Linked DNA regions of Homo sapiens: all the other regions are linked to region 1. The links are contacts of gene promoters, found by promoter capture Hi-C in blood cells and fetal thymus (Javierre and others, 2016). All regions are on one chromosome and are shown on one strand. Each heading gives the region's core, a stretch centred on a gene start or on the middle of the fragment in contact. The rest is flanking DNA. Distances are from core to core; before and after follow the strand shown.

Region 1 (4,911 bases), core at 994-3,493:
TGCTTCACCCTCTTAAGATTTCCTCCCCTTCTCCTCTAATGCTCCCTCTTAGCCACTTAGTCTGTTTCCCTCTTTCATCCCAGAAGCCTTTCTCTGTCGGAGCTTTCTCTCCTTCCCTTTGTATTTCAATCACAAGATTTCTATGTCCCATATCCCCAGTGATGTTGGGAATGACTGGATTCCCCTCTTTGAAATATTTCATTCCATTAAGTCACTTTATAAAGCACTGGTTTTTCAGGAACAGCCTTCGGAGGCTTTTTCTCCCTGAGCCCCGCGTGGTCAGGTGAGTGCTACCAGCTGAACAGTGGCACTCGGCTATGACTGCAGGGGCCCAGGTTCAGCTTTCCTCATCATTAAAAATACATAAAGGGGGCATGTCACCTGCAGACAAGTCCCTCTGTGTTAGCGCAGAAGTGAAACAGGAGAGGGAAATTGGTACCCTTTCTTATGAAAATGGAAGTGGAGTGGTTAAGCAAAGTGACTCTGGAATTGGACAAACCTGGGTTTCCATCTTGGCTCCACCATCTTCTAGCTATATCGCTTCCGAGCCTTACCTTCCTCATCTGTAGAATGAAGACACTAATAACATCCAGCTTTGGGCTGCAGTGAGATGTAGCAAATGATGCATATAAAATGCTAAGCATTGTGCCCAGCACGTGGGGAGCTTTTAGTAAATAGCAGCTATTATTATTAACAAAAATGAGGTACTTGGCTTAAAATTATGGAGACAGAGTCCAGAACTCAACAGAACCTATTTTCCCTTTCAAATAATTATTTGACAAATAAAAGCCATCTGTTCCTTTGAGATATGGATGTAAATCAAATGAAGATGCTGTATGGAGATACAAAATACAAGGATAATTACACAGCAGACCAAGGATTTAGTCCAAATCCTGTACTTCACTAAGGCCCTGGAACTCCACAGTGTTGTGGCAGGTGGAGGAGGGCTCCAGGGGTCCATCCTATGAGAACTCCCTTGCTGTAGGAAGGAAGCCTCAATTACAACAACAACAAGCAGTCACATAGGCCTTAGTTTTAAGCAAGGTACTGTCCTGGGTATTTTATCCTCTGGAAGGAATGTACAAGGTTATCATCCCTATTTCACAGATAAAGAAATTGAGGCACAAACAGAGGTTTGTTTAGAGTCACACAGCTGATAAATGGAAGAGCGTGGATTTTGACCCAGACAGCGCAGCTCCAGAGTCTATACTCATCATCACCATGCTCTATACTAACTCTCAAAACACAGGAAAGAGAAAGCAGTCTGTTGTCTTCTCATTTTTATGCTCAGTCACTGAATGAGGATGAAGTCACCTTTCTTCTGAGGTGTCTCCTGACTTCTCCCCCAGGTAGAACTAACCCTTTCTCTACCTGGCTCTTGTAGGACTCTGTACAGCCCTGCACCCTGAGGCTTATCATAGTGTAGTGACTCGTGTGTCATGAGGCCTGCATCCATGCCTGGATTGTATATTACACTGGAGCAGAGTCTGGTTCCTCTCATCCTCCAGAGCCCAGCATGTGGCCTGGCAAAAAGCCAGCACCCGACAGGCACTGGTTCAATGAATGTGAGGCTGGTTCACATCACGCTGTCAGTGTGCGAGTCATAAATCAAAATGCAGTCTACTCTATCATCGAGGTCATGGGCTTTGCCCTGGAGAACAATGTTAGCCCTCTCAACATCAGCCAATGTCATGGCCATCATTTATCAATCATTTTATAAACTTAAATATCTGCTTCTTCATGACAGTCCCATCTTAAAATGACAAACCTGAGGTTTAGTGAGTTGTGTTACTTGCCCAAAGACATGCAGCCAAAGAGGAGATGAGCTAGAAAGTAACCTTAGGGCACTGTGTGTGCTAACCCATGGTGCTTAACTCCCTGAGATGGGCAATTCTTTACTGAGTTTTCCTCTTTTCAAACCACAAATCAGAGAACAGAATAAATGTTTAAAGAACAGAATCTAATGAGACAAGCATCCTACTGGATTTTTGCTGATTAGGAATCCTTTCACATTTTAGTACTAGTTGTATAGGATAGGGAGAAAGACAGAGGAAACAGGCACAGACCCATACTATGATTTGCATATTTGTCTTTTCCAAAACTCATGTTGAAATTTAATCCCTAATGTCACAGTATTGAGAGGCGGGACCTTTAAGAGGTGTTTGGGTCATAAAGGATCTGCCTTCACAAATGGATTAATCTATGATTAATAGGCTGTCATGGGAGGGGAACTGGTGGCTTCAGAAGAAGAGGAAGAGAGGCCTGAGCGAGCATATTAGCATGCTCCACCCCCTTGCCACGTGATGCCCTGTGCTGCCTCGGAACCTGCAGGGTCCCACCAGCAAGAAGGCCCTCATCAGATACGGCTCCTCAACTTTGGACCTCCAGCCTCCATAACTGTAAAAAATAATTTCCTTTTCTTTAGAAATTACCCAGTTTCAGGTATTCTGTTATAAGCAATGCTAAATGGATTAAGACAACCCATCTCCCTTAATACTCACAATATCCATTATGAAGTAGTATTTTCCAGAGGAGGGGGACTGTGAAGCATAAAGATGTTAAAAGCATGCGAAGCTCCCCAGCTGGTGAGTGCAAAGTCTAGCGCATCTTGACCACAAAACTGGAAAATGTTTCTCCCCACTGAGACCCCTTCATAATGATTGGATCATAAACCTCCTGCAGGTTGATCTGTGCTGTTTCCTCATTTGCTCCTTCCCCACTGCACTTGGCCTCGTGCCTGGCACTTTAGCCTTCTCCGCCTCATTCCTCTTTTTCTCCCAGCCTTCCTTCGCCTCAGGGACTTGCATCCTTTGCCCTAGGACAATGAATCACACTGAAACAATAGACCTTCCCCACACCAGTCCTTCTGGGCACATATTCGCTTTTCAGTCTGAAACATCTACACACCCAAAGATGCAGGTATTTGCAACATGCCCCCGTTGTTTCTTTCCTGGGATCTTCTGTGGGTCAGTTGCAGGCTGCAGGAAAGAAGCAGGCTGTCTTGGTTACCCTGGTTACCTTTGTTGTCTGGCAGTGAGAAAGGAACGTGACTTTGGCAAAAGGGTCTGAAAGTCCATTGCTGTCAGCTGCGATGAGGCCCCGGGCTTGGTACATGTGAGCCCTCAGCTGAAAAACATGCTGTTCTGTGGACAAATCATGGAAGGGGGCAGGTGTTAGTGGGCTTTTCAAGAACAGTGTGTGCACATGTGTGTCTGTGTGTGATGTCCATCTATGTATCCACAGACAGACAAAAGGAGACCACCAGCCACATCCACCCTCCTCTGAGACAGGAATGGAAGTCCTGAAGAAAGGGAAGAGGTGATATTTATGGGGTACTTTGAACCCAGCCATCTTCCTTGGTGCTTTCACCAGGTTATGTGTCTTATTCTTCACTAAAACCATGCGAAATAGCATGCTCTCCACTTCATAGATGAGGAAAAATGGCCCACAACCAGGTTAAAAGACTTTCAAAAGTTTGCACAATTAACCCATGCCGGAGCATCGATTTTATTTCTGATTCTAAAATCCTCTTCTCTTTCTAAAATATCAAATTTTACTCCCCAGTAATTCTCCTGTTTATACAGGCATGAGTGTGTGCATGTGTGTGCATGTGGGCATGTGTGGGTGTGTGCCTGTGTGTGTGAAAGGGGCTGCTCCACATAGTTTTCACTTCAGTAAACACAATATATGTCTCAAGTCATCCATTGACTCATTTTCCATTCAGCCAGCCAGGGTCATTCTGAGCACCTACTGTGTACAGTCTTGATCTCTGAGGATTCTGTGGTAACAAGACAGTCCCTGCCCCTGGAGAGCTCCTGGGAGAAGGCAGAAGATAAGACAAGCACCCACATCACAGGCAGGGGGTCAGGGATAAGTGTCCTGTGAGAATGCTGGCAAGGAACACAGGGGTAAAGGACAGGAGTGAGCACACTGTGCTGGGATAGGAGGCCTCAGGTTGGGGCAGCTCAGGGTTCAGTGGGGAAACCTCAAGTAAGAGTTGAGTTCATCACAGTCCTTGGTCCATGGTACTTTCTGATCACTGCCCCTTGCAGGGCGCCTCTTGGTTTTTATATTCACTTATCCCTTTTTACTTCTTTACCCACTCCCATTTCACGGACTCCCCCAAAGCCACTGTGTTCAGTGTGTCTGTTTTTGTGCAGACTTGGGGAGTGGTATACAGAAGCTCTTGTGGACTAACTTGAATAACGCTACTTAGTTAAATTAAGGGTACAAATACCCTGTGAACTCCTCCACCCCCTACAATGCCATCCCTACACTTGTCTCACACAGATCCATGTGGGGACTTGTACATGGCTACTACTAATCCTTTATTAGTGTGCCTTTATCTCCTTATTTGTAAAATCGAGGTAATAATAGTTCCTCATAGGGTTATTGAAGAGAACTGAAGGGCTCAGAATGGTGCCTGGCCCATAGGAAGAACTCTAAAAGTGGGGTGAAGAGGCTGGAGTGTTGTTACTATTGCTCATTGCAATGTGAGCCTGTGGTGAGCACCTGGAAGCAACCTGCATGTCCATCACTGGGGTAGTGCAAAGGAAAAATGTCAGGAAGTTCGGGAAAGCAGTTAGGGGCAACGAATTAGAGGTACACGTGGCAAAATGGATGGATCTCAAGAATCTAAGTGCTTAGTGAGATAGGAGACAGTACTATACATGTAAAATAAGAATATGTGCACGCAAAGCAATCATTCACATTCACCAAAGCACATTCAAAGAAAAAGGGGCAGACCATAGCGGAGGTGGTGCTGCCCTTTGAGCAGAGCCCTAAAGGATGGTAACATTTGAGAGACAGAGGTGGAGGTGCCAAGACACTGGAGCAGGATGAGTCAAGACAGGGTCAAAAACACTAGGCCACATGGGGCAAGAATGTAGTCCAGTTTATCTAGAGTCTAGG
Region 2 (4,911 bases), core at 1,005-3,504, 190 kb before region 1:
CCCCAGGGCTTGCCCATGGACCCTGTGCAATGGGCCAGGTATTACGTTATCACTCATTGATCCAGCACGCTGGCAAACTGGAAGCTCATCTGATATGTGGCAACCCCTTCTCCACGTAGCCAGACATTCCTGACCCACTGTCCCATGTCTTGTGAGAATCTACAGGCCACCCCATCCTCAGTTCCAAAGTGAACAGCGTTACTTCCTTAGACGCCAGGCTGCGTCCTTGGGAATTTGCATGTTTCTATTTCTCCCACTGGGCTGTGAGTCCCTGGAGGGCAGAGTTGGAGTCATATTTGTATCATTTATATCTTTTAGGTGGCTCATAAATACACTAAATAAATGTGTCTTGGTTTGAGTGAGTCACTGAATGAATTCCTGAGTGGATGCTGTTCAGACAGGTGGGGCTGGCCCCAGAACGGTGCTCTAGCTGACCATGCAGGGACCACGGGTGCTGCTGTGAGTGATGCACTTTCCCAGGAAGACAGTAAGGATATTTAGCATTTACTATGCGCCAGGCCTTGTGCCAAGCGTTTCTCATACTACAGTTTGTTTACTCCTCAGAACCATCCTGTGAGGAAGGTTCCGTTAGAGTCTCCATATTTATGCTCCTGTGGGATCCTCCCAACCCCACTAGACTGTTTTAAGCTCCATGAACAAAACCTCCACAGCCTTTAGGTCTCAGCCTGTGTCATCTTTTTGGAGAAACCTTCATTGACGCCTTTATCTAAAGCATCCTTTCCTGCCATTGTCCATGATCACAGCAAAGCATCTGTTTCCTTCTAACCACTTATTACAAAGTGTAGCTGTCCTATTGATTTATTTTTTCCCTTTTCCTAAAATTTCCAACTCCCTTTCCTCTGAATGGTAGCTGTACAAGGGCAATGGCCTTGGCTCTGTTGCTAACCATCGTATCTCTAGGGCTTAGCAAAATGGCTGGTGCGTAATAGGCACACAACAAATGTCTGCTGAATGAATGATTCTGACCTAATCGTTTTGTATCTTATGCAGTGCCTGTGAAATTGTAAGGACTCCATACTTCCTGTTGCTTCAGAGAGATGCTTTAGTATTTCTCTTTCTTGGTCTAGCTCTTTTAACTTTCAAAAATATTTTCACAGGTGTCTTTTTCACAAATGTTCTGTGAGCCTGGTTATTTTTTATTCAAAAACTATATATATAACACCTACTCTATGCCAGTAGGCGTTCTGAGCACTTTACAAATGTTAACTCATTTTATCTTCATTACAACCCTGTGAGGTCAGTACTATCGTTATCCCCATTTTACAGATGAGCAAACTAAGGCACAGCAAGGTTAAATAATTTGCCCAAGATCACATGGCCAACAAATAGCTGAGCTAGAATTGAAACCCAGGCCGCCTGGCTCTGAAGTCCATGCTCTTATGGTATAGTGTTTCTTTCCAGTTCACAAAGGAAGAAATGAGTAGGGAAGAGAAAATGGAGAATTACTATTGATAGAACTCCAACTAGATTCCAGGTACTTTGCTAAGTAATCTCAATTAAGCTTCAAAATTGGATATCATCCCATTTTTGTAGATTGCAAAACTATGACTCAAAGAGATAAAGTAACTTGCCTAAGGTTATACAGATAGTGACAGAGTCGAGATTCAAACTCCAATCTTTTTCATTGTGAAGTCCCGTAGTTCCCTTTCTCCAAGCCAAATGGCAGCTAATAAAAGCAGGCTCAGAATTAGAACCTCAGCTCCTCTCCTGGAAGCCTCCTGCTTGTTACACAAGACTGGGATGCAGTCTCCATGATTTTGTTGCAATGGAAAAGCAGTTTCTCACAGCCAATATGATTCTTATTTGCATTCCTGCTTCGCATTGGTCAGGCCATGCCACATGATGGAACCAGCACTTGGTGAGACATCAGAGCAGCTTGCTCAGCCTCTCTAAACCTCACTTTCCTTGTTTGTGAAATGAGGACACTAATAGTTGTGTTTCCTACCTTAGCAGGCTATTGCAAAAATCTAATGACAATATGTTCACGAGAAGGATTTGAAGACTGTAAAAGTCTGTGAAGGAAACATGTGGCCGTGTTGTGCTTGAAGATCAAACTCTGAGGAATGAAGGACAAAAACTTGGCAGAGCCTGATGCTGTGGGAGTTTTGAGTGATTTCTCTGCAGGTGTGTCCTTGACTCAACTTCTGCTTCCAAGTCATGGTTTCTACGTCCATTTCTTTCCCATTGGCTTTTCTATCCTGGAGATGCTTAGCAAAGCAAAGCAAAGCAAAGCAAAGCAAAAAAAAAAAAAAAAAAAAAAAAAAAATTGTCATTAATGTATCCATCTGCCCAGTTTTTCATTATATAGAGCATTAAACATATAGAGTATCCTAGTTACTGGGGATAATACACAGTGCCCAAAATAATGAACTCCCATTATCATAGTCCTAATGGGAGAGATAGGCTGCTCTCTGTGTGTGTGCATGTGTGCGTGTGTGTGTGTGTGTATGTGTATCATGGAGCACTTGAAAATAATAGTAATTTACCTACATTTTCTTACTTTATCCTTATATAATAGAAATCTGACAATGAAGGGATTATACCTCCATTTTACAGATCAGGAAACTGAGGCTTTGAGGAATAAAACAGCTTAACTAAAGCCCAGTGCTCAGAAAGTATGGGGTCAGGATTCATTCTCAATGATAACTTCCAAGTCCAAATCTCATCCCAGTGATTGTACTAAACTGTATGAATACAGCTGCTTCAAACTCCCTTTTTTTCTGGTGGTTTTCATAGACTCTGCTGGGTTTATCAAACACAAGAAAGCTATGGGCATCAGACATAGTATAGAAAAGGTTGCCTGGGACTGGCTCAGGAATAGACATTAGAAGCTGGCATGAACTGAAATGGAAATGACATTGGCCTGTAATGGAGCAAAGTCCAACCCACAGTCATGGATGAGTGATGTTTGGAAAGTAGCATTAGAAAGCAGTTAGCATGTTGGTGATTTTAAAAGCTAAGCTTTTAAGGAATCTGAAATCTTTTTTGCCTTATTTTATTGTACTTGCCAAACTTCTGGAATAATTTTATGAATAGTAATAGTGAAAAACTTTTTTCTTGCTCCAGAAATTACAGGGAATACTTTGAATATTTTGTCAGTACTTTTCTTAAGGATCTGTAGACACCTTTATTAGATTTAGGAAATTCTCTTATAGTCCAAGTTTCCTAAGACTTTTCTTTCTTTCTTTCTTTCTTTCTTTCTTTCTTTCTTTCTTTCTTTCTTTCTTTCTTTCTTTCTTTCTTTCTTTTTTTCTTTCTTTCTTTCTTTCTCTTTTTCTTTCTTTCTTTCTTTCTCTTTCTTTCTTTTTTCTTCCTTCTTTCTTTCTTTCTTTCTTTCTTTTTCTTTCTTTTTCTTTCTTTCTCTCTTCTCTCTCTCTTTCTTTCTCTTTTTTTGCGATGGAGTCTTGCTCTGTTGCCCAGACTGGAGTGCGGTGGCAGGATCTCAGCTCACAGCAACCTCCACCTCCCAGGTTCAAGTGATTTTCATGCCTTAGCTGCATGAGTAGCTGGGATTACAGATGCGTGCCACCACGCCCAGCTAATTTTTGTATTTTTAGTAGAGACGGGGTTTCACCATGTTGGCCAGGCTGGTCTCGAACTCCTGACCTCAGGTGATCTGCCCACCTTGGCCTCCTAAAGTGCTGGGATTACAGGCGTGAGCCACTGCTCCTGGCTGGCTCCAAGAGTTTCATTTTTTATTTTTTAAATCACCAACATGTATGGAATTTTGTTGAATGCTTTTCAGTATGAGGAAAGTATCTTTTGTTTGTTTATTCTTAATCTGTTCATATAGTGAATTGCATTTTCAGATTTTTCTAATGTTTCACCATGTTTGCATAATTGGAATAAACTTGGCCATGATGTAGTAATTATTTTTATACCTTTATACAATTTTATACATGATAAGACTTGTTAGGGCTTTTGTATGTCTGCTTGTGAGATTGACCTGTACTTTTTGTCTGCTTTTAGCATCAGGTTATAATGTCCTCTTTTTCTATTCTTTACATGGTTTTGAATAAGATTGGAATTATATGTGTCTAAGTCTTCCAGAGATGCTAAGCAGTACGCTAGCATGCTGGGCCACTCTTGGTCTTTAAAAGCTGAAAGTGTTAGTATTTTATTCTCACTTGCTTTTTTTTTTTTTTTTTTTTTTTTTTTGAGACAGAGTCTCACTCTGTTGCCCAGGCTGGAGTGCAGTGGTGTGATCTTGGCTCACTGCAACCTCTGCCGCCCGGGGTCAGGTGATTCTCCTGACTCAGCCTCCCAGGTAGCTGAGATTACAGGTACCCACCACCACACCTGGGTAATTTTTGTATTTTTAGTAGAGACGGGGTTTCACCACGTTGGCCAGGCTGGTCTTGAACTCCTGACCTCAGGTGATCCGCCTGCCTTGGCCTCCCAAAGTGTTGGGATTACAGGTGTGAGCCACTGTGCCTGGCCCTCACCTGCTTTTATGGAGGCTCCCTCTGCTTCCTGTGCAGAGCTGATTCCACTACGGCTGGAGCAGACGCTAAAAACAATAAAATGTGTTAAATAGATAAGGGACTAATTGACAGGGAGGATGGGAATAGAGAAATTCTCAGCCTGCAGTCTGTTGCTGTGTGGCTGTCTTTGGGAGAATGTTTTAACTAAACTCCTTTATACCCATTTGACTAAATCCTGAAGGTCACAGAGAATGTCCTCCTGGTGGCTCCAGAGGAAGAAGGCTGAGACGGATTGCATTTACCTATTTTTACTGTTGTGAAATCTTATCAGTTTCAACCTGATACCAAACCCTAAATAGTCTCTTCTCTGACATTTATTTCAGAGGCTTTTTACAGATTTCCTAATCTCATCCCAAGCTCTGCAGCTGACACATTTGGGGGATTTATTAATACCCTAAAATCCTTG
Region 3 (4,911 bases), core at 1,650-4,149, 170 kb before region 1:
AAGCTACCTAACTACTCCCTAAACATATTTTCTGAGAGAACTAAAAAAAGAAACTCCTTTCTCCAAGCCTTGGGTAATACATTGGCAAAGAAAGAACCAGCATCATTGAAAAATGCTGGAGGGGCTATTTGTGAAAACCAGGGATAATGATAGAAGATACTGAAGTTGAATGGCCTTCCTGATGTCATCAAGGATCTGGATGGCATTGGTCACATAGCTTCACTCAACCACTGGAGGCAATAGGTGTGGCGACCAGAGTAAGCAGACATGCAGGGGTGGCAATCCCAGTGCTCTGGGCTTTGGTGGTGGTGAATTTATCATGGAGTCCCAAGGGTGAAAATAGATAGGCAAATCATGAAGGTTCTACTTGAAACCTTAAAATTGAACACAAAACAAAACAAAACAAAAAAACCCAAACAAATTTTAAAACTCTCTTTTTCTGCCTGTAATCCCAGCACTTTGGGAGGCTGAGGATGGCAGATCACTTCAGGTCAGGGGTTTGAGACCATCCTGGCCAACGTGATGAAACCCCATCTCTATTAAAAATACAAAAATTAGACGGACATGGTGGCAGGCACTGTAATCCCAGCTACTCGGGTGGCCGAGGCATGGGAGGCGCAGTTTGCAGTGAGCCAAGATTGCGCCACTACACTCCAGCCTGGGTGACAGAGTGAGACCCCCATCAGAAACAAACTACAACAACAACAAAAACACCTCTCCTTTTCTGGGAACTAGAGCTCATACTTGAGCCATCAAGTCATCAAAAGAGAATAGAGTCAGTTCACAAAGCTAGAGAACTGAGAACACTTAGAATGAGTGGAAGATTGAGTACCCTGAGGAAGACCCTCCAAAATCATCTCAAGTATGTAAGCACATCTTCCCTCCAGCCTTCTGAAAGGGTCCTGCAGTCATTTACCAGGGTAATTTTATTCTGAGGAAAGAAGTTACACAGATTTTTAGGGTTCATGATGCCGACTTTGAGCTATCCTTAATTCATGGGGACTTAGCACACTACTGTGGGCCAATAATCAGAGTAATGCCAGCCTCTAAAATGAAGTGCAGCATTCCTTGCCTGCTGTATCCATACCCTTGTGGAATCCCTTCTGCTTGAATGTGGGCTGGGTTTATTTGGTCTAGTAAATGAAATATGGCAGAACTTAGGGAATGTCACTTCCAAGATTGGGTTATAAAAAGATTTTTTTCTTTTTTTTGGACCTTGGGTTCTCTTTCACACTCTCTTGAATTGCTCAGCTGGGGGAAGAAAGCTCCCATGTTGTGAGGCATAAAAAGGCCCACATGTCAAAGAACTACAGCCTGCCAGCGACCACGTGACTGAGCTTGGAGGTGGATCATCCCTCAGGGAAGCCTTGAGATGACAGCAGGCTGGGAGGGATGCTCAGCCAGGACCATGCAGCCATGCTGCTCCGGCATTCCTGAACCACAGATGCTGTGAGATGGTAAGTGCTGTTCTCAGCTATTAAGTTTTGGGTAACTTGAGACGTAGCTATAGATAACTAATACCCAGTGTCGGGTGATCCACTCTATTTTTATTGTAGGCTGCTTTGCAACAGACTCACTAGAGCCTTCAGCTCACCCTGTGGTTATTTCTCTAGTCCTGTAGTGTCTGATGGAATCATAGAGGCTCAGCTTGGTAGAATTCCATAGTAGAATTCCATATTGCCCCTGGGACCCATAAATAAAGGCTACTATTGCAGAAGAGAGAAAATGAAAGCTCCCCCTCCCTGCCAGAAAAGTAAATCAAGAGCAGCCACCCTTTCCTGAGGGAACTGCAGAAATGTGTGGCATCACCAAAGACTTGAAATATATATGAGTGGTTATTTCTGTATATCACTATATTTAGTTGGTACAGAAAGATACTTGGAGGTTAAAAAATAGCAGTGGACTATCAAAAGCTTAATCAGGAAGAGACTTCTATTGCAGTCACTGATCCAAGTTGTGATTTCCTTATTGAAGCAAATTGACAAAGTCCCAAAACCTCAAAAGCCCGTGGTCCCTAATATACAACTATTAATTTGCAAAATGCTTTTTCAGCTATCCCAATGAGAAGACAAAAACAAGAAGCAGTTTGCTTTTACCTAGAGGAGGCAACAGTACATCTTCACCATTTTGCTTCAAAGTTATGTCAACTCTGGCTCTGCCATAACTTAGTACATAGGAGACTTTCTCATCTTATCATTTTGCAGGGTATCCTGTGAGTCTGTTATATTGATGACATATTGTGGATAGTCTGGAGAGCAGAAGGAGCAGGTTCACTTGTATCTTGCCAAGACATGTGTGCCAGAAGGTGCTGATACCTCAGGGAAGTTTCTGGGTGTTAGTGGAATACTCTTTCTGAAACAATATCTTAGTTCATAATAAGCTGCTTAAGTAGCAAGGTGCTGCATGGCCAGGTACATCGTCCCCTCTTACTCATGGTTTTACTTTGTGAAGTTTCAGTTGCCTATGGACAACTGCAATCTGAAAATATTAAATGGAAACCTCCAGAAATAAATAACTCATTTGTTTTAAGTTGCACTCCATTCTGAGTACTCTACAAAATCTTGCTCTGTCCTATTCCATCCTGCCCGGGACACAAATCTTCCATTTGTCAAGCATATTAACGCTGTGTATGCTACTGTTTGTTAGTCACTTAGCAGCCATCTTGGTTATTAGATCAAACAAACAAAATACATAGGGTTTGGTACTATCTACAGTTTCAGACATCCACTGGGGGTCTTGGAATGTATCCCTTACTGATAAGGCAGGGGGACTACTCTGTTAAGTTTCTCCCATGGCCCAGAAACAAGCTGAGAGCTGTTATTTGCCTAAGAAACATGGTTTTATTCTAAAACCAGGGGCCTCTGCTATGATTCTCCTATGAGGGCTTACTGCAGTTCCCAAAGAGCCTTACGATATTAATTCTAATAACACTGGTACTTCCAACCTACTTCATCAATTGGGTTATGTATTAGGGTTCTCTAGAGGGACAGGACTAATAGCACAGATGTATATATGAAAGGGCCAGCCTGACCAACATGGTGAAACCTCATCTCTACTAAAAATACAAAAATTAGCTGGGCGTGGTGGCGCATGCTTGTAATCCCAGCTACTCGGGAGGCTGAGACAGGAAAATCGCTTGAACCCAGGAGGCAGAGGTTGCAGTGAGCCAGGATTGTGCCACTGCACTCCAGCCTGGGTGACAGAGCGAGATTCCGTCTGAAAAAAGAAAAAAAGAAAAAGGGAGTTTATTAAGGAGTATTGACTCACATGATCACAAGGTAAAGTTTCACAATAGGTTGTCTGCAAACTGAGGAGCAAGGAAGCCGTCCCAAAAACCTCAAAAGTAGGAATGCTGACAGTACAGCCTTTAGCTTGTGGCCAAAGGCCCAAGAGCCCCTGGCAAACCAGTAGTGTAGGTCCAAGAGTCCAAAAGCTGAAAAATTTGGAGTCCAGTGCTTGAGGGCAGGAAGCCTCCAGCACAGGAAAAAGATGGAGGCCAGAAGACTCAGGCCAGTCTAGTCCTTCCACGTTCTTTGTCTGCTTTTATCCTAGCCGTGCTGGCAGCTGATTAGATGGTGCCCACCCAGCTTGAAGCGGGGGTCTGCCTCTTCCAGTCCACTGACTCAAATGTTAATCTCCTTTAGCAACTCCCTCACAGAAACACCCAGGGACAATACTTTGCATCCTTCAATCCCATCAAGTTGAGACTCAGTGTTAACCATCAAAGATTATAAGAGCTGAAAGTCTGAGCTGCTTGAATGGTGCCATCTAGGAGAATATTTCTTGCTTTAAATATCAGGGTAATATCAGCCTTTTAGGTCACCAGATAAATAAATTTGGGGCGCACAATCAAATATGGTACTTCTCAAATCCAAAGAAGCTTGTAAAGCCTATTTTTCTGTCACTGTTAATGTGCCCCAAATCACATATCTAACAAATGGAACCAGGTTTCAAAGCCAGGTCAATTTGGTATAATAGGAGCACAAATTTTCAGTAAGGCAGGCCCAAGGTCAAATTCAAGGTATCCCACAGTATCAGTTTCCTATTGACATCATAAAAAATTATCACAAACTTAGTGGCTTAAAACAATACGAATTAATATTCTTGTAGTTATATAGGTTAAAAGTCTGGTGCAGATCTCACTGGGCTAAAATCATGGTGTCAGCAGGGCTCTGCTCCTTCTGGAGAAGCTAGAGAAGAATCTGTTTCCTTCTGTCCAGGTTCCAGAGGCTGCCTGTATTCCCTGGCTCATGGCTCCTTCCTCATCTTTAAAGCCAGCAATGTTACCTCTCTCTGACCATTCTTCTATATCTTCTACATCTCCCTCTGCCTCTCCTCTCCTGCCTCCCTCTTCCACTTTTAAGGACCCTCCTGCTTACACTGGGCCTATAAAGATCAACCAGGGGATCTCCCAATTTTAAGGTCAGCTGATTAGCAACCTTAATTCCGTCGGCAATTTTAATTCTCTTTAGCCATGGAATCTAAGATAGTCACAGCTTCTGGGGATTAGGACATGGACATTTGAAGGCAGGCACAGTGGGCTCAGTCTGTAATCCCAGCACTTTGGGAGGCCGAGGTGGGTGGATCACCTGAGGTCAGGAGTTCGAGACCAGCCTGGCAAACATGGTGAGACCCCATCTCTACAAAAAATACAAAAATTAGCCAGGCGTGGTGGTGCACATCTGTAATCCCAGCTACTTGGGAGGCTGAGGGATGAGAATCACTTGAACCCTGGAGGCGGAGGTTGCAGTGAGCTGAGATTGCATCACTGTACTCCAGCCTGGGTGACAGAGAGACTGTCTCAAAAAAAAAAAAAAAAAAAAAGACATGAGCATTTGAGAAGCGGCATTGTTTCATTTACCATGCCCACCTATTAGGTGAATTACCTTAGGCAAATTACTTAAATCTTTA

The links. The method cuts DNA at HindIII sites, captures the fragments that hold promoters and counts their contacts. A CHiCAGO score of 5 or more calls a contact.
Region 2: a fragment that was not itself captured here is called in contact with the fragment with the promoter of FER1L6-AS1 in region 1 in 7 of 17 cell types (M2 macrophages, M0 macrophages, megakaryocytes and 4 more); the score reaches 8.0 in M2 macrophages.
Region 3: a fragment that was not itself captured here is called in contact with the fragment with the promoter of FER1L6-AS1 in region 1 in 5 of 17 cell types (M1 macrophages, M0 macrophages, megakaryocytes and 2 more); the score reaches 8.2 in M1 macrophages.

The regions. Positions count from the first base shown.
Region 1 is chr8:124,038,114-124,043,024 of GRCh38, reverse strand. FER1L6-AS1 (FER1L6 antisense RNA 1) reads left to right here and starts at 2,243. Exons shown (of 6, transcript NR_040044.1): 1 at 2,243-2,399. It overlaps FER1L6 (fer-1 like family member 6), which reads right to left. Exons shown (of 41, transcript NM_001039112.2): 20 at 3,019-3,143. The HindIII fragment of the contact is 11,424 bases long and covers 1-4,911 here.
Region 2 is chr8:124,223,275-124,228,185 of GRCh38, reverse strand. All of the region lies in intron 1 of LOC101927588 (a long non-coding RNA gene), which reads left to right. Among named protein-coding and RNA genes, the nearest start is that of FER1L6-AS2, 54 kb to the right of the region's middle. The HindIII fragment of the contact is 1,460 bases long and covers 1,525-2,984 here.
Region 3 is chr8:124,204,662-124,209,572 of GRCh38, reverse strand. LOC101927588 (a long non-coding RNA gene) reads left to right here. Exons shown (of 3, transcript NR_125420.1): 2 at 1,252-1,457. Among named protein-coding and RNA genes, the nearest start is that of FER1L6-AS2, 36 kb to the right of the region's middle. The HindIII fragment of the contact is 1,967 bases long and covers 1,916-3,882 here.